Linked DNA regions of Homo sapiens: regions 1, 2, 4 and 5 are each linked to region 3. Evidence: promoter capture Hi-C in 16 types of primary human blood cells and fetal thymus (Javierre and others, 2016). All regions are on one chromosome and are shown on one strand. The core of a region is centred on a gene start or on the middle of the fragment in contact, and the rest is flanking DNA. Distances in the headings are between cores, read along the strand shown.

The links. The method cuts DNA at HindIII sites, captures the fragments that hold promoters and counts their contacts. A CHiCAGO score of 5 or more calls a contact.
Region 1: a fragment that was not itself captured here is called in contact with the fragment with the promoter of JHY in region 3 in 11 of 17 cell types (naive CD8 T cells, megakaryocytes, activated CD4 T cells and 8 more); the score reaches 10.2 in naive CD8 T cells.
Region 2: a contact is called between a fragment that was not itself captured here and the fragment with the promoter of JHY in region 3, in 3 of 17 cell types (naive CD8 T cells, non-activated CD4 T cells and total CD8 T cells). The highest score is 6.2, in naive CD8 T cells.
Region 4: a contact is called between a fragment that was not itself captured here and the fragment with the promoter of JHY in region 3, in 4 of 17 cell types (naive CD8 T cells, naive CD4 T cells, total CD8 T cells and 1 more). The highest score is 6.7, in naive CD8 T cells.
Region 5: a contact is called between a fragment that was not itself captured here and the fragment with the promoter of JHY in region 3, in 2 of 17 cell types (naive CD4 T cells and total CD4 T cells). The highest score is 5.4, in naive CD4 T cells.

What each region holds. Positions count from the first base shown.
Region 1 is chr11:122,586,859-122,592,203 of GRCh38, forward strand. No RefSeq gene overlaps it. Among named protein-coding and RNA genes, the nearest start is that of TRK-TTT2-1, 30 kb to the left of the region's middle. The HindIII fragment of the contact is 8,114 bases long and covers 1-5,345 here.
Region 2 is chr11:122,606,133-122,611,150 of GRCh38, forward strand. No RefSeq gene overlaps it. Among named protein-coding and RNA genes, the nearest start is that of UBASH3B, 47 kb to the right of the region's middle. The HindIII fragment of the contact is 1,411 bases long and covers 832-2,242 here.
Region 3 is chr11:122,880,630-122,885,500 of GRCh38, forward strand. It overlaps JHY (junctional cadherin complex regulator), which reads left to right and starts at 2,130. Exons shown (of 9, transcript NM_024806.4): 1 at 2,130-2,343. RefSeq lists a silencer at 2,249-2,608. The HindIII fragment of the contact is 12,251 bases long and covers 1-3,209 here.
Region 4 is chr11:123,235,705-123,240,497 of GRCh38, forward strand. No RefSeq gene overlaps it. Among named protein-coding and RNA genes, the nearest start is that of CLMP, 43 kb to the left of the region's middle. The HindIII fragment of the contact is 612 bases long and covers 1,908-2,519 here.
Region 5 is chr11:123,253,454-123,258,119 of GRCh38, forward strand. No RefSeq gene overlaps it. Among named protein-coding and RNA genes, the nearest start is that of LINC02727, 59 kb to the right of the region's middle. The HindIII fragment of the contact is 5,741 bases long and covers 1-4,360 here.

The DNA.
Region 1 (5,345 bases), core at 2,269-4,768, 290 kb before region 3:
CCCTTCCTTCGTTTCTTTGTTTTTTTTTTTTTGTTTGTTTTTGTTTTGATTTTTTGAGATGGAGTCTCGCTCTGTCCCCCAGGCTGGAGTGCAGTGGTGCGATCTCAGCTCACCGAAATCTCTGCCTTTCTGGTTCAAGCAATTCTCCTGCCTCAGCCTTCTGAGTAGCTACGATTACAGGCATGCACCACCATGCCCAGCTAATTTTTGTATTTTCAGTAGAGACGGGTTTCACCCTGTTGGCCAGGGTGGTCTCAAACTCCTGGCCTCAAGTGATCCGTCCACCTCGGCCTCTTAAAGTGCTGGGATTACAGGTGTGAGCCACTAATCCTGGCCCTCTTCCTTCATTTCTGATGATCCCAAAGTTCTTCTGGTTTTTTTATTTGCTTGTTTAGTTTTGTTTAGTTTTGCTGTCTAACAAACTTTATTTAGCAATTCTTTTAGTGTGGGTCTGCTGGTAATGAATTCTATTCTATCCTATTTTTTGTCTGAGAATACCTTTATTTCATCTTCATTTCTGAAAGGCACTTTTGCTGGATTTGGATCACTGGATTTACAGTTCTTTCAGCCCTTTAAAAGTGTGCCCCATGGCACATCATTTCCATGTGCCCCATGGTTTCTGATGAAAAATCTGTAGTTGTTTAAATTGTTGTTTCTCTATAGTAACATGTTGTTTTTCTCTGGCCGCTTTCAAAGATTATTTTTTTCTTTTCTTTTCTTTTTTTTTTTTTTTTTTTTTTTTTGAGACTGAGTCTCACTCTATCGCCCAGGCTGGAGTGCAATGGCGTGATCTCAGCCCACTGCAACCTCCCCCTCCTGGGTTCAAACGATTCTTGTGCCTCAGTCCCATGAGTAGCTGGGATTACAGGTGCCCGCCATCACACCCAGCTAATTTTTGTTATTTTTAGTAGAGACAGGGTTTCACCATGTCGGCCAGGCTGGTCTTGAACTCCTGACCTCAAGTGATCTGCCCGCCTTGGTCTCCCAAAGTGCTGGGATTACAGGCATGAGCCACCATGCCCAGCCAATTGTTTTTTTCTTGTCTTTAGTTTTCAGGAGTTTGATCATGGCCTGTCTAGATGTGCATTTCTTTGGGTTTATCGTGTTTGAGGCTGAGTTTCTTGAATCTGTAGATTTACATCCTTCACCAAATTTGGGAAGTTTCCAGCCATTAATAAGTCAAACATTTTTTCAAGCTATACTTTTTTCTCTGTCTTTCTAAGACACCAATGACATAAATGTTAGACTATTCTTGTCCCACAAGTCCCTGAAGCTCTGTTCTTTTTTTTCATGTTTTTCTCTATGTTGTTCATATTGTATAATTTCTATTGATCTATCTTCACGTTTATTGACTCTTTTATTCATCATCTCCATTCTGCTATTGAATCTATCCAGTGTTTTTAAAATTCATTTATTATATTTTTCAGTTCTAAAATTTCTATTTGGCACCTGTTATGTCTTCTATTTCTTTTCAGAGGGTTTTTATTTTCTCATTCATTTCAAGAGTGTCCATGATTGCTGTCAAAGCAATTTTGTAAAAGCTGCTCTAAAGTCTTTGTCAGATAATGCCAACATCTGTGTTCTCAGCATCTCAGCATTGACATCTGTTGTCTTTTCCTTGTGCATTGAGATTTTCCTGGTTCTTCACACAGCAGGTACTTTTAAATTATATCCTCGACATTTTGGATATTATGTTATCAGGCTCTGAGTCTTGCTTAAATAAAGTGGAGAAAGTTGACATCTTTGTTTTTGTAGGCAATCAAACCAGTTGGGCTCAGGTCACAAGTTCCAATCTGCCCTTTGTGGGCTACGGTTCCTATGTCGTTTCTGTTTTCAAAGCCTTTAGTATAATTTGGGCTGCTTTGTGACTGAGACCTGGGCAATGGCTTATCTGTTAGTTCAATTCTCAAAATCTTTGGTGTGCTAATTAGGATCAAAAACATGCATGTGCACCTAGGAAATGAGCCCTGGACTTCATAAATAACTTTGTGGGGTCATCTTCTGAAGTTTTCTCTTTCCATGATTTCTCCAGTCCTTTCTGGTTTTCTTGGGCTCTCAGTCACCGATCAGAAAGCCAGCAGTTTAGGCTGGACGCCGTGGCTCACGCCTGTAATCCCAGCATTTTGGGAGACTGAGGCAGGTGGATCACTTGAGGTCAAGAGTTCAAGACCAGCCTGGCCAACATGGTGAAACCCCATCTCTACTAAAAATACAAAAAATTAGCCGGGCATGGTGGTGGGTGCCTGTAATCCAAGCTACTTGGGAGGCTGAGGCAGAAGAATTGCTTGAACCCGTAAGGCGGATGTTGCAGTGAGCCGAGATCATGCCACTGCACTCCAGCCTGGGTGACAGAGTGAGACTCCAAAAAAAAGAAAAAGAAGAAAGAAAAGAAAATGAAAGAAAGAAAGAAAGAAAGAAAGAAAGAAAGAAGGAAAGAAAGGAGAGAGAAAGCAAGCAAGCTGTTTAATTACCTAACTCAGCTGCATATTTCTGTGACTGTGCTTACATCTTGGGCAAACAGTAGAAAACAGAGAGGAAAAAAAGGCAATGGGGGTTTGCCTCACCCTCATGGAACCACAACTCCACCAGCCAAAGAAAGTCCTGCTTGCTCAGTGTTTTGGCTCTACAGACTCCTGTTGCTGCTGCTATTACCAAAACAGGATTACTTGAGTGCTAGAATTTGAGAGAACAGGGATGAGAAAAAAGCAGGGGGGAATTTCTTCATTCTCTGGTTAAGTTGCCTGCTCCTCAAACCAGAACTAGGATGCTTCTCCTGAAATTCTTTCTGCAGTCCCGTGCTCACTTTTGGGCTTGAGGCTATGTTGTGTTCAGGACAGAGAATACTGGAAGAAAAAAAATAGCAAATTCACTGCAGGTTCAATGGTGCTTCGAATTCTAGTCTTCATCCCCAATTCACCCATCACTACTTAGTTTTCAGAGTCCTTAAACAGCCATTCCATGCATCATGTCCAAGGTTTTAGACATGTTCAGTATGGGAGGAAGGGTAAAAAATGTTTACCCCATCTTACCCAGAACTAGCACCCCTGGCTGTTATCTAAGCACCAAGTGATATTGATATGCATTCAGGATGCAAATTACTGCCTTCCACTGCTCCCTTCATTTTCCTACCTATTCTTATAAATATTGTGCTGATCCTTGGAGGCCAGGCTCAAATATCCCTTCTGAGATGTCTTCTCTGAACTCCTCACCAGAGCCAATCTCTCCCTCTTCTGATCTTCCACAGCGTTGACTTGTGCCAACATTACAATATCTGTCCATCTTCTCCTCTAGACTTTTAGTGTCTTCTTAAAATAAAAGATACTGGCCAGGCATCGTGGCTCACGCCTGCAATCCCAGCACTTTGGGAGGCTGAGGCGGGCGGATCATGAAGTCAAGAAATCGAGCCCATCCTGGCCAACATGGTGAAACGCCATCTCTACTACACATACAAAAATTAGCTAGGCATGGTGGCACGCGCCTGTAATCCCAGCCACTCGGGAGGCTGAGGCAGGAGAATCACTTGAACCTAGGTGGCGGAGGTTGCAGCGAGCTGAGATCACACCACTGCACTCCAGCCTGGCAAGACTCCATCTCAAAAAAAAAAAGAAAAGAAAAAAGGTTGGGCACGGTGGCTCAAGCCTGTAATCCCAGTACTTTGGGAAGCCAAGGCGAGTGGATCACCTGCAGTCAGGAGTTCGAGACTAGCCTGACCAACATAGAGAAACCCCGTCTCTACTAAAAATACAAAATTAGCTGGGCATGGTGGTGCATGCCTGTAATCCCAGTTACTCAGGATGCTGAGGCAGGAGAATTGCTTGAACACGGGAGGCAGAGGTTGCGGTGAGCCGAGATCACGCCGTTGCGCTCCAGCCCACTCAACAAGAGCGAAACTCCATCTCAAATAAATAAAATAAAAAATACTTTGTTTTAATCTTTCTTGACTTGCTCTCAGTCCTAGGCCTGGTGCTCAGAACATAGTAAACAGCTACGAATTCAATAGAATTACTAAAGCACTGGCCAGTTTTTTTGTTTTTGTTTTTGTTTTTGTTTTTAATGATAAAGGAAATCAGGACTTCTGGTTATAACATGGTCTAGAGTAAAGATGCATTTCCCTCTTTTCTTCTTGGAAATTATCCAAAGGTAACTAGAGAATGTGAAGTATTTTTAATAAAAGAAAACCTGAAGGCCGGGCATGGTGGCTCACTCCTGTAATCCCAGCACTTTGGGAGGCCGAGGCAGGCACATCACTGAGGTCAGGAGTTCGAGACCAGCCTGGCCAACATGGTGAAACCCTGTCTCTACTAAAAATACAAAAAATTAGCTGAGCATGCTTGTAATCCCAGCTACTCGGGAGGCTGAGGTAGGAGAATTGATTGAACCCAGGAGGCGGAGGTTGCAGTGAGCCGAGATGGAGCCATTGCACTCCTGCCTGGGCAACAAGAGCGAAACTCCGTCTCAAAAAAGAAAAAAGAAAACCTGAAAATACTTGTATAAAATAGAGGGAAGAGACTCAGTAAACAGGCTTGCAGCTGCTAATCTGTTGATTATGGAAACTTAACATTGAAAGAACCCACTCGAATACAACATGGGGTTCTAAGGAAAACCTGCCTGAAACAGGGCACACTTCATCTTTCATATAGTTGGTATCAGAATACTTTATCTCATTCAAAGATGACTGGTAAGTAAAAAGAAGAAAGAAAAAGAAACCAATAGATGCTCTATTAAAGATACACTACAAAATAAGGAAAAAAAGAAATGGGAAAATAAATCACAGAAAACACTAAGGAGGGAAAAAAAATCCTATCCTCTTAACTCTTGGGTCAAAGAAGAAACTATAACTAAATTACAAAACACTTTAAAATAACAATAATGAAAATGTCACATAGGAGCAGAAGAAGATATTATTTATAAAAAATGAAAACAAGAATTAATAAATTATAAAATGGGGAAAAATTATAGAATTGATAAATAAACCTAAGACCTGGTTCTTTGAAAAACATCACCACCAAAAACATTTAGCTAACTTGATTTGTTTATTAAGTGAGCAACAAATATACAAAATTAGACATATCACTGGAGAAAAATCTTCACCCTTACAGAAGAAATTAAAGGTATCATAGAACTACTTTGCTCAAGACTATGCGTACAATTTTGGGAAACTGTATGAAATGGTTGACTTCCTGTGAAAAGATTAATTACCTAAATTAGCTTAATAACAAATGGGTCATTGAACAGATCAATTACCACTGAAGGAGTCAAAGTTTATTTTTTAAGTATGAACTCCAGACCTAGAGGTTTGACAGAGGACTTCATCAAACATTTATGGAACTCAATGGATCCTATGT
Region 2 (5,018 bases), core at 287-2,786, 280 kb before region 3:
AGTGAGACTCTGTCTCAAAAAATAAAAAATAAATAAATAAGAAGAATTATGGTAGGGCTTGAACTTTGGTAAAGAATAAGTATAGTTAAACAACGACCTATCGTGTCTCAAAAAATAAAAAATAAATAAATAAGAATTATGGTAGGGGCTTGAACTTTGGTAAAGAATAGGCTTAGTTAAACAATGACCTATCATTTCGTAGCTTGCTTTTCCGTACGTTGTTTGCTGCTCTGGAGTCACATAACTGGCGGGGGGTGGTCACAAAATTTATAATTTCCCCAACTACTCCTATAGATAACATCACTATTGTGAAATAAAGAACTGGTCTTTGAGATATTTTTCAGATTTAACATTTCAACAGACCAAGAGATGCTACTGATCCTGAGACCCCATCCCAGGAACTGAGTCAACTACACAAAGACAGTGTAGACACCCTTGTGATTTCATCTCCAGACAATCAATTGTTTCAGTTCCTGAGCTCCCTGCTTATCAAAGTACCCTGAAAAACTCTAGCCTCCAAAATCTCGGAGAGGCAGATTTGGGAAATACCTCCTATCCTTTGGCTTGGCTGGCCCTGCAGTTATGAAACTCTTTCTTTGCCACAATATCTGCTGTTCTCAGTGCATTGATTTTTGTGGGCAGTGGGCAAAAAAGAACCCATCAGGTGTAACAGTGCTGGAATTATAGGCATGAGCCACTGTGCCCAGCCTGTATGAAACATTTTAACTATGTACAAGTTAACATATAGCCAAGCACTAATGAAAATGAAACAAGGTATAAGTGGCTTAAAAGAAGTTAAAAGACAATAGAAAATATTTAAAATTTTATCAAAGCTTCCCATTTAAAAAGCAGTAGATGAGTGGGAATGTAAATTAGGATAGCCATTAAACTATATGCAGATTCCTCAAAAAACACAGAGTTACCAAATGATCCAGCAATCCCACTTCTGGGTATTTACCCAAAAGATTTGAAATCAGTTTGCCTGCACTCCCATAGTCATTGCATTGCTGGGCGTGATGGCTCACACCTGTAATTCTAACACTTCAGGAGGCCCAGGTAGGTGGATTGCTTGAGCCTAGGAGTTTGAGACCAGCCTGGGGAACATAGAAAAACCCTCTCTCTACAAAAAAACACAAAAATGAGCCTGGCATAGTGGCATATGCCTGTAGTCCCAGCTACTCGGGAGGCTGAGGTGGAAGGATGGCTTGAGGCCAAGAGGTGGAGGTTGCAGTGAGGCAAGATTGCGCCACTGCACTCCAGCCTGGGTGACAGAGACTCTAGAGACTCTAGCTAAAAAAAAAAACCACACACACACACACACACACACACACAAAGAGAAACAAAAACAAAACATGTTCATTGCAGCACTATTCCCAATAGCCAAGTTATGGGATCAAACTTAGTGTCCCATCAATAGATAAATGGATAAAGAAAATGTGGACATATACACAATGGAATACTATTTGGACTTTAAAAGAAGGGAATCCTGTTATTTGAGACAACATGGATAGAATTAGAGCACCTTATGCTATGTGAAGTGAGCCAGGCACAGAAAAATAATACCACGTGTTCTCACTTATATATGGAACCTAAAACAATCAAACTCAAAGAAGCAGAGAGTAGAATGGTGGTTATAGAGGCTGGGGTACGTGAGGAATGGGGAGTTGATGGTCAAAGGGTACAAAATCTCAGGAAGAATAAGGGTTTTTTTTTTAGATCCATTGCATAGCATGATGAATACAGTTAATAATAGTGTATTGCACACTTCAAAATTGCCGAAAGAGTAAATTTCAAATATTCTCACCACAAAAAAATGGTAAGAATTTGAGGTGATGGATATGTTAGCTTGATTGAATGATCCCACATTGTATTTACAAATCATAACATCACCCTGTACCTCAAAAATACATATACCTCTGCCAGGCATGGTGGCTCATGCCTGTAATCCCAACACTTTGGGAGGCCAAGGTGGGGAGATCACCTGAGGTCAGGAGTTCAAGACCAGACTTGTCAACATGGCGAAACTCTGTCTCTACTAAAAATACAAAAATTAGCCAAGCGTGGTGGTGCACACCCATAGTCCCAGCTACTGGGGGAGGCTGAGGCAGGAGAATTGCTTGAACCCGGGAGGCAGAGGTTACAGTGAGCTGAGATCATGCCATTGCACTCTAGCCTAGGCAACAGAGCAAGACTCTGTCTCAAAAACAAAACAAAACAAAAAAATATGTATATACACCTCATAAGCTTACAATTTTTAAAAATTCAAATAAATAAATTAATGAAAAGCACTAGAAGCAAACAACTACAAATGTTTGAAAAACAGAAACTTCCAATATCAGTAAACTATTCCAGAACATTAAAAAAGAAAGTTTCCAAATTCTTTCCATAGATTCATTATTTATTGATACCACATTTAATAAATATATCACAATAACATCACACTTTATGGAATAATTTATGAATATGAGTGCAGAATAATAAATAAAAAGTATTAATAAATATAATTCAGAAACTTATTAAAAAATAATATACCAGAACAAAATAGATTTGAACCTGGAAAGAACAGCTAAATATTAAGGAATCTATTTACATAATTTACTAACTTAGCCTATTAATTGATCAAAGTAAAAACATAAATAAAATTGTATATCCAGAGATGCTATAAAATCATTTGATAAAATTAAACATCAGCTGGGCATGGTGGCTCATGCCTGTAATCCCAGCACTTGGGAGGCCAAGACAGGCAGATCACTTGAGGTCAAGAGTTTGAGACCAGCCTGGCCAACATGGTGAAACCCCATCTCTACTAAATACAAAAATTAGCTGGGTATGGTGGCACACACCTGTAATTCCAGCTACTCAGGAGGCTGAGGCACCAGACTCGCCTGAACCGGGAAGGCGGAGTTTGCAGTAAGCCTAGACGGTGCCACTGCACTCTAGCCTGGATGATGGAGTGAGACTCTGTCTAAAAAAAAAAAAAAAAAAATTAAACCTTCCTCCTTGATTTTTAAATAATTCTCCCTTAATACAAGCACATACAGCCGTGCCTATCTATACATATTTTTGTAGCTATATAAATTCTTAAGCCAAAGCCTAGTGTCAGGATAAATGGTGAAGTGTGATAAACAATTCAATTAAAGTCAGAAACTAGACAAGTTTTTTAATTATCGTTACTTCTATTTAGCATATATCTGGAAGTACTGGTCAAGACAGAAAAAAGAAAGAGATATACTGGAAAGAAAGAAGCCAAGTTATTTATTGCAGCTAATATGATTATGTACAGACAACTAACTATAAAACTATTGGAAGTAATAAGAGAATTTAGTAAGGTGACTATGTAACAAAAAATAGACTTTTAATAATAATAAATGTCAGGCCAGGCGCAGTGGCTCACGCCTGTAATCCCAGCACTTTGGGAGGCCGAGGTGGGCAGATCACCTGAGGTCAGGAGTTTGAGACCAGCCTGACCAATATGATGAAATCCTGTCTCTACTAAAAATACGAAAATTAGCCGGGCGTGGTGGCATGCACCTGTAATCTCAGCTACTCGGGAGGCTGAGACAGGAGAATCGCTTGAACCTGGGAGGCGAAGGTTGCAGTAAGCTGAGATCGCACCATTGCACTCCAGCCTGGGCAACCAAAGCAAAACTCCATCTCAAGTTTAAAAATAGACTTTTAAAATAATAAGAATAGTTCCATTATATGGAAACAACAACAACATATTTTTTCCTACTAAACAACATATTTTCTTCCTACTAAGTAAAAATCATCTTTCCCTACTTGCAAGCTAAAAATTTAGTCTGCCACAGTTTCATGGATGTTGGCAGAGACATAAGACTCCTTCATCAGAAACAAAGGATTTTGTTACAGTAATAACAGTAGTCAGACTATTAGCATTTTCTTGTGACAATTTCCTAAGCTCTAGTTTCTGCAAGGCAGGGCAAAAGAGGGCCAGGTGACACCTGCACCTGCAGTGGTCTGCACTACAGGACGAGAGGCCTGAGTTCAGGGAATCTGAATATTTTATACTAGACCTTAAACATGCCTGCCCTCTGCCACTAAGAGAGATGCTAACTCTATCTTTTAAGTCTGTTTGCTACACTACGTCCTTGAAAAGATAGTCTAGAACAAAGGCAGAAAAACACAAGACATGCAGAAACAGGAGGGCCCCCTGGAGAATTATCTCCCAACACTGCTTAGAGAAAACTTTAAATGCTACATGGGGCCAGGTGCAGTGGTTCACGCCTATAATCCCAGCACTTTGGGAGGCCGAGGTGGGCAGATCATCTGAGATCGGGAGTTCAAGACTAGACTGGCCAACACGTCGAAACCCTGTCTCTACCAAAAAAAAAAAAAAAAAAAAAATTAGCCAGATGTGGTGGTGCACACCTGTAGTCCCAGCTACTCGGGAGGCTGAGGCAGGATAATTGCTTGAACCTGGGAGGTGGAGGTTGCAGTGAGCTGAGATCAAGTCACTGCACTCCAGGCTGGGGAACAGAGTGAGACTCCATCTCAAAAAAAAAAAAAAAAAAAAAAAAAGGTACTTGGAGTATAAATGAAGATTTCATAATTTGGAAGATCTACCCTATTCTTGGATAATACCAATAAATATAATGAAATGTTCAATTACTCCTAAATTAATCTATAAATTTAATGCTAATCCAATTAAAATACCCATAATGGAGCAACAGGAACTCTCCTTCATTGCTGGTAGGATTAGAAAACATTGCAGCTACTTTGGAAAACAGTTTGGCAGTTTCTTAGAAAGCTAAATATTTTCTTACCATATGATCCAATAATCAAGCTCCTAGGTGTTTACCCAAATTAGCCGAAAACTATGTTCACACAAAATCCCAAACATAAATGTTTATAGCAGTTTTACTTATAATTGCCAAAAATTAGAAGCAACGAAGATGTTCTTCAATAGCTGAATGGATCAACTGTGGTACATTCATATAATGGAATATTATTCGGTAATGAAAAGAAATGAGCCACCAAGCCACAAAAAGACATGGCAG
Region 3 (4,871 bases), core at 880-3,379:
ACTGGAAGAGTCTAAAGAACCACAGCATCAAAAGTAGACAAGTGTGAATGACTCAGCATTGATTCTATAACATATTCTGGAAGCCACTATTAGGACTAAATCCTTTTGCTTGAAATTTGCTTGCATGTTTGCAGTTGCTATAATAATACCTTGTATAATATACTGGGCAGAATAACACTAATGGTTTCAGCTACGTTGCTTTTATTTCTTCTACAGACATTGAGGTCCTACTGTGTACTCATAAGACAAGGTCCCTGCTGCCAAAAAAGTAAAAAAAAAAAAAAAAAAAAAAAAACTAACTCAAATAAAAAACAGAATAAAAAGTGCTAAAGCTGGGTAGTAAAGACATTTTCCAATTTCCTGTGTTTCCTATCATTAATGAGGCAACTGGTATTGAAGCATTCTTTTTTTATTTTATTTTATTTTTTTGAGATGGAGTCTCGCTCTGTCACCCAGGCTGGATTGCAGTGGCACATCTCAGCTCACTGCAACCTCTGCCTCCCCGGTTCAAGCAGTTCTCCTGCCTCAGCCTCCCATGTAGCTGGGACTACAGGCGTGCACCACCACGCCCAGCTGATTTTTGTATTTTTAGTAGAGACGGGGTTTTGCCATGTTGGCCAGGCTGGTCTTGAACTCCTGACCTCAGGTGATCCACTCGCCTAGGCCTCCGAAAGTGCTGGGATTACAGGCATGAGCCACTGTGCCTGGCCGAAGAATTCTCTTTTTTTTTTTTTTTTTTTTTTGACAAGGTCTCACTCTCACCCAGGCTGGAGTGCAGTGGCACAATATTGGCTGACTTCAGCCTCAACCTCCTGGGCTCAGGTGATCCTCCCACCTCAGCCTTCCAAGTAGCTCGGACTATAGGCACGCGCCACTACGCTCAACTAATTGTTAAAAATTTTCGTAGAGACAAGGTTTTGCCATTTTCCCCAGGCTGGTCTTGAACTCTTGGGCTCAAGCAATCCTCCAGCTCGGTTTCCCAAAATGCTGGGATTACAGGGTGAGCCACTGCACCTGGCCTCAAACCAATCTTTGAAGGTAGTTATTCAAATCTACTTGTTGTTTTAATGTGAAGATAATTCCTAATGCTTCCTTTCTTTATTCTTTTTTGAAACCTTTTTTGATAGTGAAATATTCTACCCATACATAAATGTACAGCTTAATGAATTTTTACAAGATGAACATCTATATAACCATCATTAAGGTCAGGAAATACAGTCTCAAAAACATTCTTCTCCCTACCTGCCAGAACCGACCACAATCCTAACTTGATGGGAATCACTAAGTGGGTAGTGTTTCCCATAAAATTGCTTTTTTGCTTTTTTTCATAGTTTCCTCCACTAAGTATGGAGCCACAATCACTGTAGAGTGTAATTTAGCCTGTTTTTTATATACAAAAATCATACAGTATGTACTTTTTCTGGGTTTTTGTTGTTGTTCAAAATTGTGTTTTTAGTATGCCTCCATATTGTTACACATAGTTGTATTTCATTCATTTACAGTGCTATGTAGTATGCCAGTATAGGCAATAGCATAATCTAATTAACCATTCTTTTGATGGATAGTTCAGTTATTTCCAGTTTGCATGCACAGGAGCACGCACTTCTTAGGGTAAATACCTAAAAGTGAAATTGCTGGATCCCAAGGCATACATATCCTGGCTAATGTCAAACCATTTTCCAAAATGGTTGGTTGCATCGGTTCTCACGTCCGCCCGCAGAAGGTGACGGTTCTTTGCACTACGTCCTCCCTAGCACCTGACGCTGCCAGACGTTTCAACTTTGGACTTTTCGACTCAACTTATGGTGAGTGTGGTATTATCCGCTGTGGTTTTAATTGGCCTTCTTCTGATTATTAATGAATTAAAGCATCATTTCAATAAACAGATATTTATTGGCCATTTAGATTTCTCGTGTGTTTGTGAAATACCTTTCCATTTACCCATTATTTAATTGGGTTCCTTTTCTTCTTGATTTGTAGCAGTTCCTCGCGTATTTTAGTAGTTTTATTTGTGGCAAAGATCTCCTCCCCCGGGTGGCCTCTGCCCTCCGGCGCTGGGAAGTCCGGGCGGCGAGGCAGCCTCTCCCGGGGCGTTCGGGCTCCTCCGGCTCTGCCCCGATGTCGTTATTACGGCCGTTTGCAGCCTCCGTGCCAGGGCCGGGGGTGCGGTTCGGGACGCGGGATCCTAGGTCGGGTCCTGCCCCGCCCATGTGGCGCCGGCGTCTGTGTTGTCTGCGGTCTCCAGGGCAGCGCCGGGGCGGGCGGGGGCCCGGGCGGCGGCGGCGGCGGCGCGGGAGGATGCGGGGCCCGTCCGGGTCGCGGCCGCGGAGGAGCGCCGGGCAGGTGACGGGCGGTGGCCTCCCGGATCTGGGGTGGGCGGCGCGCCCGGGGAGGGAAACGGGAAGGGCTTACTGGGGATGGGGACGGCAGGAAACCACCCAAGCAAGCTGGGGAGGAGCCGGCGCGGGAGCCTTCGGGACGGAGTGGGGAGCGACAAGGGGGCGAGGCCGCGACAAGGGGCTGGGGGGCCGCCATGCGAGGCTTCGGCGCCCGGGCACCCAGAGCAGCCCTGTTCCCGGTCAATTAGGACCGGTCCCGGGCACCAGGCCCGCCGACTTGTCACTTCCTGGACCTCCAAACGCCCCTTGTGACAGGCCTTGTTCCTCAGGAACAAGCAAAGGTAGAAAACCGAACGCCTCCCCTGGGCAGCTTCCGGCCTGTTTCAAACCAGGGTTCGTTCCTTTTTCTTTACGATTCATCTTGGTGAGCCCAAGCAGGGTTCCTTTTCCCCTCCAGGAGAAAGTTCGATTGTCCCATGCTAGTGGACTAGACCCACTGCAGGGATCCCTGGGGAGCTGGCCGCTTCTTAGTCCCTAGGTGCCATCGGATCTATCGCTGTCTTGTTTATTCAGGAGACTAGTCACCTCTCTTGGTCAGAAATTTCAGCGGCACAACCTTTTTTTTTTTTCACTGGACGGGAGGAGGGAGCCACATTCATGAAATTTAAACGCCCACTTTCTAACTTATTCAAGCTGTCAGCTGTTCCTTCTTCCACCCCATGTTTTGGTAAGATCAGGCCTCCACAGAAAACCCAGCTTTTGTGGCGTTTGGCTTTGCTCTTTGCATACTTTAGCAAACTTCAGGAATCTGCTAACATCAGCAAAATTATCTTCTGTGGTTACTGTTTTATTTTTTATTCATTCCAAGAAAGCTTAGCCTATTTCATTTAAGAAGAGAAGTTCAAGGGACTGAATTATTTTAAGAGTAATTCTAAGTTGCACTATAACGCTTAAGCTTGCTCTTCAGGATCTCAAATTCAGTGACCTTAGCTCCTCCAGTAAAACCGGTGTTAAACAATCTCTTTTACTTAAAATGTGTTAGTATTTGATAGATTTGCTGCTTTCTTGGCACATCCTAAAAAAGCAACAATTAAAATAATAAGGCAGAATGCAATATGTATTTTAAAAATAAGAGACAAAATAATACAACAAACCAGTCTGTAATATTAGAGAATAATATGTTAGTCTACCAACAGGGCAGACTTCGAGTTCAATAGAAAACTCACTTCGTGTGTATTTACATATGAACGTTCCCTTTTGCCTGTTGTTTGTTAAGGTGCTTTCCTCCAAGGATTTGATGATGCTCCTTGCAAACATTAGCAACAAGGTCAACATTATAAGCAATCCTAGGAATAGTAATAAGGTTGTGTCATTTAATTAAAGTTAGGATTTGCCAAAAGAACAAGAGCAAGCCATTAAGACAAATTTTACAGCAATTTCTAATGGTAAAGGTTTCTGTTACCTGACTCACAGAAAAAAAAAAAATGGGTATAAAGGCAGTGAGATAGAAAATAGACCAAAATAGAAATGCTAGGTAGAGATGAAAGGAAGCACAATCCAAAAACATCATGTCCGTTCGGTCCTACATGAACTCAAAGCACCCTTTCCATGGCTCTTTATAATGACCCTTACAGACAGTGCAGGTTCACTTGAATCACACTCGTAAGTGAGTTGGAAGGGACTCCAGCTAACTCTTAGCTGTAATTCAGGCCAATCTCCCACCCACTCAACTTTCCCCAGGATAGCATCCCGTTCGGTAATGTAGACCTCCAGGCTCTGCTTTGGATCGCTCAGTGGCAGAATTCACAAGACCACTAAATCTTTTGTTGAACAGTTTTATTTATTTTTTCTGATAGGGTCACGTTCTGTTACCCAGGCTGGAGTGCAGTGGCACTCCAGCTCACTGCAGCCTCTGCCTGCCCGGCTCGAGTGACCCTCCTCCCACCGCAGTCTCCCGAGTAGCTGGGACTACAGGCCCATCCCACCATGCCCACTAATTTTTTGTATTTTTTTTTTTTTTTTGTAGAGATGGGGTTTTGCCATGTTGCCCGGGGTGGTCTTGAACTCCTGGACTTAAGCGATCTGCCCACCTTGGCCTCCCAAAGTGCTGGTATTACAGGCGTGATTGTTGAACAGTTTTAATCGTTATTATGGGTTTTAAAAAATACCGGATGAGGTTGATCTCCATTTATGTCCACCTAAATTATATGTTCCTATCTAGTCACAACCTGGCTATCAGAAAGTCTTTTCCAAATGATGTTGCCAGCCCATATAGGTCTAGGAACAAAACAGCTTCCCCATTTACAGTTCCAACTATGGAAAACTACACTCTTCTTTCTTCTTACTTTACTTTCCAAAACATAGCCCCTGAACCTGTTTTACTCTATCCATGAATAACTACGGACCATATTTATATTGCCCATAGTTATTTGGGCATTTGAAATAAGGCTATCAAAGTACTGTCCATAATTAACCATTTGTCTTAGTCCAGGCTTGTCTGTAACAAGCCCTTGGAAGCTAGAAATAGGAATC
Region 4 (4,793 bases), core at 964-3,463, 360 kb after region 3:
TAAGAATCTATGACTTCAGCTTTTTCTCCTGAAGCACTCCTCCAAAATGCACCACTGGGCACAGTTCCACTGGGAAGCTAAATAAATCAGGAAAACACAGTGGCCTGTGAGATGCTGAGAATTTAGAATTCAAGATAGCTTCAACTTTGATTTGTCCTTTTTTCTAATGGATGTTCTCTTTAGTTTCTATGAATTTGTGAAACACATATTTGTGGTTTAACCCATCAGTTTTTTCTGTACAGCAGGAAAAGTAAGTTTTGTTTTTACTCAGAAGAAAACGAAAGCCTGGAGATGTTAAGCAATTTGCTTAAAGTCCCAAAGGACACGTCTCAAATATGCTTATCAATAAAACGTGTGGGTCAGTGGGTGAGTTAGAAGTCAGCAAATGCTGAACTTTCTTTCACTGCTTTCCATCTGCCGGAACCAGTGAATGGGCTGATGATGCCGTCTAGTGTTAAGAAAAAACAAATGGGCAGGGCGCAGTGGACCATGCCTGTAATCCCAGCACTTCGGGAGGTTGAAGCAGGAGGATTGCTTGAACCCAGGAGTTCAAGACCAGCCTGGGCAACATGGCAAGACTGTCTTTATAAAAAATAAAAAAGTAGGCTGGGTGCGATGGCTCACGCCTGTAATCCCAGCATACCGGGAGGCTGAGGCGGGCAGATCACCTGAGGTCAGGAGTTCGAGACCAGCCTGACCAACATGAAGAAATCCCATCTCTACTAAAAATACAAAATCAGCTGCACATGGTGGCGCATGCCTATAATCCCAGCTACTTAGGAGGCTGAGGCTGGAGAATTGCTTGAACCCAGGAGGCAGAGGTTGCAGTGAGCCGAGATTGCGCCATTTTACTCCAGCCTGGGCAATAAGAATGAAACTCTGTCTCAATAAATAAATAAATAAATAAATAAATAAATAAATAAATAAATAAATAAAAATTAGCCAGGTGTGATGGTGCATCCCTGTAATCCCAGTTGTTCCAGAGGCTGAGGCTGGAGGATTGCTTGAGCCCAGAAGGTCGAGGCTACAGTGAGCCATGTTTGCACCACTGTGCTCCAGCTTGGGCTACAGAGTGAGATCCTATCTTAAACAAACAAGAAAAGGCAACTTATTCTAAGACCCAGATCCGACATTCTCTCATGAGGTGGAATTAGCTCCTGGGATGTGCAAGTATGATTAGAGATGTTGATTTAAACTTCAGTTTTGCAATAGAAGAAATATTAACCATCTTTCTTAGTTCCAAAAGAAACTCTCATAAAATAGAAGAGTTGCAATTGGAATCCTCATGTAGAATATTCAGGTGTGTATGGGAAAGTGATGACGAAATTGCTCTTTTTCACAAGAGTCTTGATATGGAAAGCAGTGAAGTGGGAAAAAGAGTTAAGTCAGACGGAAACTGGGAGAAACCCTTGAAACAAGTGGTTTGATCTGCTTGGTGGCCTGTAACTTCTGCCACCTGAAAAGATCTGCATCATTTCTGCATTTCTTTTCTTTTCCTTTTTCTTTCTTTTTTTTTTTTTTTTTTTTGAGATGGAGTTTCGCTCTTGTTGCACTCCAGGCTGGAGTGCAATGGTGCAATCTCAGCTCACACAACCTCCGCCTCCTGGGTTCAAGTGATTCTCCTGCCTCAGCCTCTCAAGTAGCTGGGATTACCGGTGCTCGCCACCACGCCCAGCTAATTTTTTGTATTTTTAGTAGAGATGGGGTTTCGCCATGTTGGGCAGGCTGGTCTCGAACTCCTGACCTCAGGTGATCTGCCCGCCTTGGCCTCCCAAAGTGCTGGGATTACAGGCATGAGCCACTGCACTCAGCCAGGTTCTGCATTTTACTTTACTCTTTTCATTTGAACTTTGTTGTATGGACACAGCACACAGTGTGCTCAGTCAGCACCTGCCACACTCACAGCAAGCTTTAGCATGAGCTAGAATGACTCAGAGAAGCCTCCCTGGTGAACCCCACCTGGCTCTGGCCAATCCAACTTCACGTTCCCACAAAAGGCATTGTACTTGCACAGGGCCTGAGCTTGGTCCACCAATGGAACTATCTTGTAGGAAAGATTGCTGGGCTTTGGGTATTTGTTAACTAACGTCTTTGCATTGGTTTCTGGACCAACTGAGGGCAATCTGGCTCCCTAGAGGACACCTGGCAATGTCTGGAGACTTTTTTGGTGTTACAATTAGGGGTGCTATTGGCACCTACTGGTGTATCTAGTGAGTAGGGGTCATGGATGCTGCTAAACATCTTACCTTGCAAAGAACAGCCTCCCTCAACAATAATAATCTGGCCCAAAATGTCAATAGTGCCATGTTTGAGAAACTCTGTTCTGGACCAATTCAATTTTCTTTTTTTAAAATTTGTAGAGACAAGGTCTTGCTATGTTTCCCAGGCTGGTCTTGAACTCCTGGCCACAGACAATCCTCCCTCCTTGGCCTCCCACAGTGCTGGGATCACAGACATGAACTACTGCATCTGGCCCAATTCTTTTCTAAAGCAAGTGAAGTATAGTAGGATTATAGTGAAGCTTGTACCACACTGCTTTTAGCCTTATAAAAGAGGATCTGCCAAACTCTATTATGATAATACTGCTATATAACCACCAACCACAGAACCTAGGCAACATACAACAATAAACTTTTGCTCATGAGTCCAGAGTCAGTTGGGCAGTTCTGCTAAACTGGGCCAGGCTTGGCTAACTCTGATGGAGCTCACTTAGGTCTCTGCAGTCATATGGTGGTTTGGCCTGGGAGCTGGCTGCTGTAATATGACTTCACTCAGCGGTGGGTGGGCTGTTGGCTGACATGGCAAGGGTAACTGGATCACATGGTCTGTCATCACCCAACAGGCTCACCCAGGTTTTTCACATGTCTGTGGCAAAGTTCAAGAGAAAGAAAGTAGAAACATGAGAGGCCTCTGGAGGCCTGGGCTTGGAACTGGCATGTTATCACTTCCACTGTACTCTACTGGTCAAAGGAAGTTGCAAGATTCAAGGCCTGGAGGAACTGACTGTATCTTTTCATGAGAAGAGCTGCAAAGTCAATTGCAATGGGCAAGGATACGGGAAGGAGTGAAGAATTGTGGAAATGTTTGCAGAAAATCTACCACACCCTTCTTCTCCAATCCTAACTTACATTTATGCTTCAAAATTCACTAGACCACTACTCCTCCAGGAAGCTTGGTCTAACCTCCTCTGTCCTCCTACTGACTGCCAGGCTGACGTCTCTCATAGCACTCCTCACATTGTGCCACAATCATGGGCACAACCATTGGCCTGCCCCCACTCGACTCCAAGCCATCCTGAGGGCAGGATGCATGAATGAGTGAATATATGTCCTTAATGTTTTGTAAATCTGGCTGTAGAGCATAAGGAGCTTGGGTTCTAGAGTGAGAATGCCTCCATTCAGATCCAACTTTTGCCTCTTACTAGGTCAAGCCAAGCAAGTGAATAAATGATTTCTCTCTTCCTCTGTACAATGGGGAGAATAATAGTCCATACTCCAGAGGCGCAGGGGAGTGATTGGCACATAGGAATCCTCAGTCATGGTAGCGTCTGTTATTATGAACGCCTCTTTCTCCATTTCAATTTGGCACCTGGTTTGTAGAGACCTGTGACTTCATTCACTAATTCATGCATTTAACAAGTATCTGTAGAGCCCTCACTCGCTAGACACAGCACTCCTTGCTTCTCCTCACACAGTAAGAGAACCGCACATGTCACCCGGCAATTGACTCCTCAGCGTTTGAATTCATTTTCATCTATGGCTGGTTTTGCCTTCCATTCAGTCATTAGAAGAGATGAATGTTTCCTTCTGTAGAGGTGACACAGCCAGGGAGTCACCATGCTCCCAGGGAGAGGAGTCCTATGCATCCTTTCCTTCCAGGCCTGACTCATCAGGGAGACGTTGCCTGGGCTGTTGAATTCCTATAGATCACGGAGACAATGAGGAGAACTGTGTAGGAAGGAGATTTTAGCAAGCTCAAGAGCTGAATTCGGTGTGTTGCTGTAACATTTTGGGAACTTTTAAAATAAGACACATGTACGATTTCAGACAGATTTTTAAATGGCAGCATAAAATAGCTGCTTCTGCCGCAGACTGGTTTTTGTGGGTTTTATAACCAGAAAAAATTAGAAGATGGCTCATGAATAATACACTGACTCAATTCTGGGAGTCGCAGTGCCCCTCACAGTGTGACTGTGTCTACCGCTTTTAATATCCTGCAAATTGACCGGGTGTCTCTCACTTAGCAGGTCTCAGCAGAAATGGAATCTGGCAGGAGGATGGCATCACCAGCTTCTTCCAGGTTCCAAGTTGCCAAGTCAGATGACTCTTGCTTGGCCTTGAAATTGTTCTCTTTCTTAGAGGTTTCAGGTTAGAATTGAATACTTCTGAAACATTTGCAGGAGATTCTAGGTGTCTGGTGTAAGCTGGATTGCACAAGTAGAAATTTGGAAAAATTCAGCCTAAAGTGGATTTGCATTTTGATGGCCCATCTTAGGGAATTTACTGTAGTGTTATTGCTGCCAAATACCTGTGTCCATACTAATATTTTTTAGTCTCTAAAATACTTTTGTATTACACAATCAGAAGAGTATAATTTAGCATTGGTTATACTGGCTTTGAAAGTATATTTGAACATTTCCATGTGAGTTAGTTTTGCTTTCAAAATAAGGATTTAGATTTTTGAGTAAAAGGCCATGTCTTGTGTTTATATTGTTTTCTCCACAATCCCTAGCACCAAGCTGGAAACGTATCACTTGATTCCTACCTGTCAGTTGTCACAAACAGGGAGCTCAC
Region 5 (4,666 bases), core at 240-2,739, 370 kb after region 3:
CTCAGATTCTTACTTTGGGTTTTAACATAATACCACCGCCCTCCTTCCTTCCCTCCCTGTTCCCCACCTCCTTGTTATGAACTGGATATCTGTGCCCCGCATCCCCTAGAATTCATATGTTGAAAGCCCCAACCTCTAACGTGTTGGTATTTGGAAGAAGGACCTTCAGGAGGTTTAGAGGCAGTCATGAGGGTGGAGCCCCATGATGGAATTCATGTTTTTATAAAAGGAAGGAGGAGACCAGAGCTCTCTTTCTCTCCGCCATGTAAGGACACAGCAAGAAGGCTGCTGTCTGCAAGTCAGGAAGAGAGCTCTCTCTCTAGGAATTGAATTGCCAGCACCTTGCCTTGCTCTTGGACTTCCCAGACTCCAGGACTGTGAGAAATAAATACCTGTTGTGTATAAGCCGCTCAGTGTCTGATATTTTGTGATAGCAGTATGAATGGACTAAGACACTCCCTTTCTCCCTCCCTCCCTCCCTTTCTTCCTTATTTCTTCTTTCCTCCTTTTTTTCTCTCTGTCTTCCTCTGTCTCTCCTTCTCTCTCCCCCCAGTTGCAATCTCTTTTCTGACTTCATTTCTTGTGGGCAGAAAGAACTACAGGGTTTCCAGAGGCTTCTATTTGGGTCATGGCAAGCAGCTCAGGTTTCACAAGCACAGGACAGATGGTAAGCCAGCTTTCCTTCTGAGCAGAGGGCTCACCCGTCAGAAGGAGGCTGGTTTATTCGTTGGCCAAATTGTTTATAATATCATGCTTATTGTGGGTGTCTTTTCTTCATTCTAGACTTTGGTGGTTAAAAACATAAAACAAAACAAAACCCTTGGAGAACGCTTTGGTCTCTTTCTTTATTTTATTTTTTAGATTTGAAAATATCAACATCTACTTATTTATTTATTTTTAGAGACAGGGTCTCACTCTGTTGTCCAGGCTGGAGTGCAGTAGCATGATCGTAGCTCACTGTAACCTGGAACTTCCAGGCTCAATTTTCCCATCCCAGACTCAGGAGTAGCTGGGTCTATAGGAATGCACCACCACACCTGGCTAAGTTTTAAATTTTTCTGTTGAGATGGGGTCTTGCTGTGTTGCCCAGGCTGGTCTCAAACTTTTGGCCTCAAGCAACCGTCCCACTTCGGCCTCTCAAGGCACTGGGATTACAGGTATGAGCCACCATGCTGGGCTGGCTTTGGTCTGTTTCTGCCTAACAAATCTGCATTGCCTATGTGTGGCAAGGGAAAATGATGATCATTGGTGAGGTGTGTCTGGGAACATGAGGGTGGAAATGCAGACCAAGGGCATGGGCACAGATTTCTGGACAGATGGAGTTAAGCTGAGTGGGTGCCTATGAATGTGTTGCAGGCAGAATGGTGTGGTTGATGAAGGCAACCCAAGGATTTGGAAATGAAGACTCTTGTTTGAGACCCAGGTCTGCCACTTAATAGCTATGTGGCTTGGCAAGTGATTTAACCTCTCTTCCTCGGTTATTTCTTCTGTTAAATGGAGATATAACTATTTGACTACGTTGTTATGAAGATTAAACAAGTCTGCATATAGGAAAAGTATCAAGTAGTGATGGTCCCAAATGTGGAAACTTCACTCTGATGGTTCCTGCCCCTTCCAGCTAGATCCTCAACCTCTTTTCATATCTGTCTTTTCCTCTAAACAATACTTTTTTTTTTTTTTGAGACGGAGTCTTGCTCTGTCACCCAGGCTGGAGTGCAGTGGCACAATCTTGGCTCACTGCAAGCTCTGCCTCCTGGGTTCACGCCATTCTCCTGCCTCAGCCGCCCGAGTAGCTGGGACTACAGGCGCCCACCACCATGCCCGGCTAATTTTTTTGTATTTTTAGTAGAGACGGGGTTTCACTGTGTTAGCTAGGATGGTTTTTTTTTTTTTTTTGAGACGAAGGCTCACTCTGTCACCCAAGCTAGAATGCAGTGGTACGATCTTGGCTCACTGCAACCTCTGCCTCCCAGGTTCAAGCAATTCTTCTGCCTCAGCCCCCCAAGTAGGTAGGATTACAGAAGCCTGCCACTATGCCCAGCTAATTTTTGTATTTTTAGAAGAGACGGGGTTTCACCATGTTGGCCAGGCTGGTCTCGAACACCTGACCTCAAGTGATCTGCCCGCCTCGGCCTCCCAAAGTGCTGGGATTACAGGTGTGAGCCACTGCACCTGGCCTCTCCTGCACTTTGACTTTGACCCTTGTCCTGGCCCAGGCAGGCCTGAGTCTGTGGGTAAACCTCCAGCTAGACACAGATTTATTCAGGGAAATGGAAGGTGGAGAAAACAGCTGGTGGGAGATGGGGCATCAGTGAGTTTAGCTTAAAGGGGTTAAGGAGAGCAAAAACCACCAATGTCCCTGTCTCTTTGCCAGATAACTCTCAGTAAAGCAGTGAATTCTTGCTTGAGTCTCAAACTTTGTACTAATGAGAGGGGCCTGTTTTACCCAGAGTTATATAACCTCTGCTCTTTATCCTGGTATTATTCACTTCCAAGTCTGTCACTACCACCGGACTTTTGGCTGAAAACTGTCAAAGAAACCATCACGGATTAGGACCTATTGGGTGAAGGGTGTGAACGTTGTGTGTGGGGGTTGGCAGAGGAGAACGCGGGGCCTCCGGCTGGCTGTCGTTGCCATGACAACTGCAGGAACTCTTGCTCCACCCATTTGAAATGTCCTGACTCTTGGAATGAAAGGCAGTTAATTGAAGGGTTTCACCTAACATCTGCGCAATTGCAGTGATTATCTGAGCAAGTAGGTAGGGAATCAAAATGAGGTCTCAGAGGAACTTAGGCCTGAGACATCTTCTCAGAAGATGCATTATCTAGTGGATTTGAGTGAGAGGATAGAAAGACTGGGGGTGGGAGTGCCTTTGGAGAGTACAAAATGATAAAAGGGATCACTTCAGGTCAAGAGTTCGAGACCAGCCTGGCCAACATGACAAAACCCCGTCTCTACTAAAGATACACACGCACACAAATGAGCAGGGCATGGTGGTGCATGCTCGTCATCCCAGCTAGCCGGGAGGCAGAGGTTGCAGTGAGCTGAGATCGTGCCACTGCACTCCAGCCTGGGCAACAGAGAGCCAGACTCTGTCTCAAAAAAACAAAACAAAACAAAACAAAAAAACTAAGGGCAGGAGAGCAGAAATTGGATGTGAGAAATATCTTTACGAGGTAGAAGGAGCTTCTGAACTTGTTAATGGATTGGAAGTATGGGGTAAGGCGAGAGTGCCCAGATTTCTCATTAGGACAGCGGCATGCATCGTGGCCTCCGTGAAGTTCCCACCAAGATTGGGAACTGATCCGCATTCCCACAGGAGAGAAGCAGGCTCAGGGGGATGGAAGAGGATTTCCACTTTGCACAGGCTGAGGTCTCAGTGCAAAACCTGGGCACAAAGCACCCCTTTCAACTCTGCTTTTTCATGTTGAACTGAAGAGAGTCACCCTCCTAGTCCCCATCCTGGCTCATGAGAGGAATCAAACTGAAATGAAGGGGGAAAGGATTTTATTCATCAGAGTCTCATAATGTTGAAAAATCTCTAGTCCGATCACGAGGCCTATCCATCCAAATCCATAGCAGGGTTAAATTCATCCCTGTGAGCTGGCCTGCCCAGAGGTGCTGGAAAGAAACATTAACCATTGGCTGGGCACGGTGGCTCACGCCTGCAATCCCAATACTTTGGGAGGCCGAGGTGGGTGGATCATCTGAGGTCAGGGGTTCGAGACCAGCCTGACCAACATGGAGAAACCCCATCTCTACTAAAAATACAAAATTAGCCAGGTGTGGTGGCACATGCCTGTAATCCCAGCTACTGGGGAGGCTGAGGCAGGAGAATCGCTTGACCAAGGTGGAGCTTGCGGTGAGCCGAGATCGTGCCACTGCACTCCAGCCTGGGCAACAAGAGCAAAACTCTGTCTCAAAAAAAAAAAAAAAGAAAGAAAAAAAAGAAACATTAACCATCACGTGAAAACTAAATTCATTAAATTCATTAATTCATTGCAGATCAACACTTGTAATTCTTTTCTCTTCTCCTCTTGGTGCCCATATTAAAACCCCTGCTTGTTTTCTCTCTGTGTGGCATATTTGTGTCTACGACACCCTGGGTATAGCAGTTGCTATGACCGCTCATTGTTTTTCAGCTTCTGTTGCTCAGGAGGAGAGTTATTTAGTTCTTTGAGAGGTCCCCTGTGCTTTCTGGAGTGAATGTTATTTATTACCTTGTGACCTATATTTTAAACCTGACTGTCCCAAACGCTCTCCGAATTTAGCAAAAATGAATTCTGCTATCTTTGTGTGATCCATTTAATTAGAAAAAAGCTAGAAAATACTTTGAAAATAATACGAAGTAATTTCCAAAGCTTTCCCACATGTGGATCTCAGTTTGTCTTCATAAAAACTCTATGAGGTATGGCAACAGATGGGCCTCTTTTCCTGATGTGGAAACTAAGGCTCAGGAAGGCTGGGCTTGCCTGAGGTCCCCAGGTGGATCAATAGGAACAGAAACAAGCATTTTATGTAGCACCAGGCAGTGTACAAAGCACTTTCACTGATACTGTCTCGTTGTGAATGGCTATAATGATCATTCCAGCTAGCTTCATTTCATAGATGAAGAAACTAAACCTCAGGGATGAGTAACTTGCTGGAGACCAGGTAGCAGTAAAT